Linked DNA regions of Homo sapiens: region 1 is linked to region 2. Evidence: promoter capture Hi-C in human tissues and cell types (Jung and others, 2019). All regions are on one chromosome and are shown on one strand. The core of a region is centred on a gene start or on the middle of the fragment in contact, and the rest is flanking DNA. Distances in the headings are between cores, read along the strand shown. Region 1 holds the start of LOC105372270 (a long non-coding RNA gene). Region 2 holds the start of ZNF562 (zinc finger protein 562).

What was found. The method cuts DNA at HindIII sites, captures the fragments that hold promoters and counts their contacts. A contact is called where the count stands out against the background at its distance.
Region 1: a fragment that was not itself captured here is called in contact with the fragment with the promoter of ZNF562 in region 2 in 1 of the 25 tissues and cell types used here (hippocampus).

The regions. Positions count from the first base shown.
Region 1 is chr19:9,707,862-9,710,611 of GRCh38, forward strand. It overlaps LOC105372270 (a long non-coding RNA gene), which reads left to right and starts at 1,799. Exons shown (of 2, transcript NR_187774.1): 1 at 1,799-2,131. RefSeq lists a silencer at 279-479. The HindIII fragment of the contact is 3,025 bases long and covers 1-2,750 here.
Region 2 is chr19:9,673,609-9,676,420 of GRCh38, forward strand. ZNF562 (zinc finger protein 562) reads right to left here and starts at 1,492. Exons shown (of 6, transcript NM_001130031.2): 1 at 1,407-1,492. RefSeq lists enhancers at 461-1,660, 1,199-1,698, 1,377-1,436, 1,699-2,698. The HindIII fragment of the contact is 2,519 bases long and covers 1-2,112 here.

The DNA of each region.
Region 1 (2,750 bases), core at 147-2,646, 34 kb after region 2:
GTTTTTGCAATTAGCCGAGCATATAGCCCAGTCTCTCAATGTCCCTTCATGTTATGTATTAGCACAAGTGTACTGTATGAATCATTATCAATCTATTGCACAGGAAGACATAAGTAGCAAAAATAAGAGTGAGAATTCCCACTAATAAAAAGTGAGAGTCTCAAAGCCGGGAAATGAGAGAAGACAGACCCTCTCATATTGTTTTATGTTGTTTTATACTCAGAAAAAGAAAGAAAAGCAAAACTAAAGGCAGGTAGCCTGGTGCCTAGGAACCAGACCCTAAACCAGGCCTAAGCCTGGTAGTTAAAGATCGACCCTTGACCTAACCAGTTATGTTATCTATGGATTCCAGACATTGTATGGAAAGGCATTGTAAAACTTCCCGGTCGGTTCTGTTTCACTCTGAGCACCGGTGCATGCAGCCCCTGTCACGTACCCCCTGCTTGCTCAATCGACCACGACCTTCTCACATGGACCCGCTTAGAGTTGGGAGCCCTTAAAAGGGACAGGAATTGCTCACTCGGGGAGCTCGGCTCTTGAGACAGGAGTCCTGCCGATGCTCCCGGCTGAATAAACCTCTTCCTTCTTTAGCTCCGTGTCTGCGGAGTTTTGTCTGTGGCTTGTCCTGCTACATCACCAGGGCTGGAGTGCAGTGGCATGATCTCAGCTCGCTGCAACTTCCGCCTCTCGGGTGCAAGCGATTCTCCTGCCTCAGCCTCCCAAGTAGCTGGGATTACAGGTGGCCACCACTAAGCCCAGATAATTTTTTGTATTTTTAGTAGAGATGGGGTTTCACCATGTTGGCCAGGCTGGTCTTGAACTCCTGACCTTGTGATTTGCCCATCTCGGCCTTCCAAAGTGCTGGGATTATATATATTCCTGTAGGAGATAGAAGCTTCAAAAAATAAAAACCTACAGCCAAGCCAATAAAATAGAGCACATATCTCACCACAACTGCAAAGACAACTATGCTGACATTACTACTTTTAGTTGGTGTTGTGCTGGAGGTTAAAATCCATTCAGTAAAGCAAGAAAATATATATTTATATAACCTAATGACTGAAAGGGAAAAATAAGTCATTACTTACAGATTATCTCACTGCCTATGTGGAAAGGGAAAAGAGTCATATTAAGTACTTTGGACTGAACAATGACCCCAAAATTCATTTGTTGAAGCCCCAAACCCCAATGTGAGTGTATGTCAAAATAGGATCTTTAGGGAGTATCATTAAATGAGGTCGAGGGACACAAGGGGCTGTGGGGAGGGAGAGCGAGAGTGAGAGCACGACCCGTTTCTTGGTCTCCATCATGTGAAGACATGAGGAATTAGGCATTTACATGCCAGGAAGAGAGCTCTCACCAGAAGTGGGCCATGCTGGCACTCTGATCTCAGATTTTCAGCCTCCAGAAACATGCGAATATAAATGTTAAAAACAAGTAGTTTAGATAGTTCCTCTTCAAAGGGTTTCATTTTGTTACAAAGTGTTCCTCTGCAAGAGGTCTTTACTTCCTTGTACTGTCTGTCCTGAAGTCTTATTTCCCTGTTGCTTAAATTAACCTTGCCCACCAGTCTATCAGCCCCTCCCATCCTGCTGTGCTCAGGCATGCCCACCAAGAAGTCACCCCCTCCCTGCTGTAACAGCCTTCCCTGCCACAACTGTTCTTCCCTGTACTCTTCAAATTAGCTAACTGCATTCAGTTTAGACTGTGTGGTTCAACCCCAACCAATAGGGGAATGACACATCAACTAAGGCCAAGTGCATTAGGGATTAAAAACCCCTGCTGTCTTTTGTCTGATGAGCTCTTGCCATTGCTCCATCCACGAGACACATGCTTCTGTAGAAGTAAATTTGACTTTCTGAGAAAATTTATGTTCGACTGCTATTTCTTTTGCAGCACAAATAGTATGTTTCTAACAATTTGGTGGCCTGTACAAGGACCCCATTCTCCTCCCAGAGGGTTTTCCATCCTCTCCTGTGAGGACACATGCCCCACTGCCTCATTGCAGTAGCCTCAGGGGTAAGGAATGGAGACCCCCCTAGTGTGATGAATAAACCCGGACTCTCAGCAACATGGGAAGAAAAGACCTACAAATACCGTGGTGACCAGATAACTCTGTCCACAGACCAAGGTAAGAAATGCTGCAGGAGCTGGCAAAGTATTTCCTAGGTGGTCATGACCAAGCTAAGAAAAGCCACAGGGGCAGTGAAATATTCCTTGGTGAGGACACACCAAGGCATGAAAAACTGCGGGGGTGGTGAAGTATTCCTTGGAAGGGGTATCTTGGAAGTTAATAGTGTATGAATAAGATGCACAATTGCATGTGAAATGAGTGTTAAGTCTAGATCTGCAGTTCTGTGGTCACCTCATATGGCTTAGGGTGACCCACCTGTAAAGGAGTCCAGGATGGGGGTTTATACCAACCCACCAATGCCAAGAGGGACCTAACATGGCTAGAGAAGGATGAAGTGAAAGAAGAGGCAAAAAATTCCCAGTAGGGGGGATTGAGCCTCACAGGAACCTCCAGTAGCAAGGAAGGCAAAAAATTTCCATTAGGGGAAATTGAGCCTCACCCCATATTGCAAGAAATTTCCAGTAGGGGAAATTGAGACTTACCCCAAAAGGCAAGAAATCTCCAGTAGGGGAGATTGAGCCTCACCCTAAAACCATCAAGATGGGAAATACCCCAAACAAGGTAAGAAAAAGGATAAAGCTAGCAACAATAATATTCCCCTGATAGTCCCCTAGGC
Region 2 (2,812 bases), core at 242-2,741:
AGAAAGGCTTGCAGCTGGTAACAATTAGAAAAAAAATAACCTGCAAGAAAATAAAAATTAAAAACTAAAGGCTTAGTCTACACGCGTTCATATTTACATACAAAAACGGGCACACCCTAAACAACTATGTTTTTTCCATCTGAATGTAATGTGTCAAAAATAAGTGGCGGGTGGATCACTTGAGGTCAGGAGTTCGAGACCAGCCTGGCCAACATGGTGAAACCCCATCTCTACCAAAAATATAAAAAATTAGCCAGGTGTGGTGGTGCACGCCTGGAATCCCAGCTACTCGGGAGGCTGAGGCAGGTGAATCATGTTATAAAGTTTTCATGCCACAAAAAAAAAGCACTCAAATATAACATTTTCTTTTCTCAGCAAGGCAATTTACTTCTACAGAAGGGTGTGCCCTCACAGATGGAGCAATGGTGAGCACACACCAGGACAAGGGAGGGGAAGGGGTTCTTATTCTTGAGGAAAGTGGCCCCTGCCGCTTTGTCCTTCCCCGATGGCTAGGGTTAGACCCCACAGGCTAAACTAATTCCAATTGGCTAATTTAAAGAGAGTGACAGGGTGAGTGGTTTGTTGGGGAAAATGGTTATAACAGAGCAGGAAATTGGAATGAGTCAGGGTGGAAAATGAGTCAGGGTGGAGTAAGTAATCGAAATAAGTCTGGGTGGAGCAGGTAATCAGAATGAGTCAGGGTGGAGCAGGTGATCGAAAAAGGTTGCTTTACGGAGAAGTTTAAAAGTAGAAGGCAAAGAATTAAACATACTGACATATTGATTTTTTAAAAAGAAATTTAAAACTCATATCTAACAATCACTTGAACCCGGGAGGTGAAAGTTGCAGTGAGCCAACATCGTGCCACTGCACTCCAGCGTGGGCGACAGAGTAAGACTCCAAATCAAAAAAAAAAAAAAAGTAAAGGACATCAAGACAACGCCAGATTCTCAGATGAGACATTTTTTAGCAAATAAATGGAAGTCACAGCCCTCTTGAAACCATTTTTCCGCCGTTGCTCACCAGGAACATGCCGGAAGAGATAGGTTCCAGACGCGGGAGAATGCGGGGCCAGAGCCAACCTCACCAGAAGGGCAGAAATCCTTTTCCTTTCGGAAAGAAAAAAACTCCCAAAGGTTGCTTTCCAAGCTTTTCAAGAGAGGAGCACAGCGGATGAAAGTACTCAAGAAAACACCCGGCGGAGGCGGAACAAACACACTTCCCGACGCAGCCAGACGGACTGTGCGGCCTCTCGGAACTGGCCAGAGGCCGCACCAGGAGGACTGACAGCCCCTAGAAAAGCGAGTGAAACTAGGCGGATCTGAGAGGCTCCTGGGCGACCACGCCCAATCCTTCCTTTGCCGCCCCGCTGGTATGTCCCGGACCCCCAAGCAGGTAGAACTCACCACAGCGGGGTGGACTCCACCACAATAAAGGTTAAACGGCACTGACCATGCTGAGCCACAGCCGGTAAAGATGGCGGTGGCACACTGACGTCACTTCCGCTCCGAGCCTCCGGCCGGGTGGGGCTCCAGGGCTTGAGTTTCAGGCACGTAGGACAAAGAAATTCTAGTTTCCTCCTGGGTGGGTGCCGGACAGTGCCTGGGGTTGGCTCAGGGAGCGGGATGCAGAAACGGGTTCAGAGAAAAAGATGAGTTTAGAACCGGACCTCTGGACGGAACCGTGGGCGAGGGGTGGGGCCCATATTTGGGGGCGGTTTAGAGGTGGGACCCGGCCTAGCCCGCGTTTCAGGTGCCCAGACGGGTTGGAAAGGCGGGGATGGGGGATGGGACGCACCCCAGAGGATGCTCCTCCAAAGCTTATCCTGGGCGGGCTCAGTGGCTCACGCCTGTAATTCCAGCACTTTGGGAGGCTAAGGCAGGTGGATAGCTTGAGTCCAAGAGTTCCAGACCAGCCTGAGTGAAATAGCAAGACCGTGTGTCTTTTTTTTTCTTTTCTTTTTTTTTTTTTTTTTTTTTTTGAGACAGAGTTTCACTCTTGTTGCCCAGGCCTGTGCCCGGCTCGACCCTGTCTCTATTAAAATATATATATAAGGCCAAGCGCCAGTGGTTCACGCCTGTAATCCCTGCACTTTGGGAAGCCAAGGCGGGCGGATCACCTGAGGTCGGGAGTTTGACACCAGCCTGGCCAACATGCTGAAACCCCGTCTCTACTAAAAATACAAAAAAATAGCTGGGTGTGGTGGCAGGCGCTTGTAATCCCAGCTACTCAGGAGGCTGAGGCAGGAGAATCGCTTGAACCCGGGAGGCGGAGGTTGCGGTGAGCCGAGGTTGCGCCACTGCACTCCAATCTGGGGGACAAGAGCGTGACTTCATCTCAAAAAGAAAAAATATATATATATGTGTGTGTGTGTGTGTGTGTGTGTGTGTGTGTGTGTGTGTCAAGCTTTTTTGTATGCCGCTCCTCATGTTCCTGGAGCCTTTCCATGATTCTTCCATATTAAACCTGCCAGTGATAGATGGCATGGTCTGTCTCTTCCATTCAGTCATTCTTTCTGTAGGCCTTTATTTTTTCTTTTTCTTTTTCTTTTTTTTTTTTTTTTGAGACGGAGTCTCTCTCTGTCCCCCAGGCTGGAGTGCAGTGGTGCAATCTCGGCTCACTGCAAGCTCCGCCTCCTGGGTTCACACCATTCTCCTGCCTAGCCTCCTAAGTAGCTGGGACTACAGGCGCCCGCGACCACAACCAGCTAATTTTTTTGTATTCTTAGTAGAGACGGGGTTTCACGGTGTTAGCCAAGATGATCCCCATCTCCTGACCTCATGATCCACCCGCCTCGGCCTCCCAAAGTGCT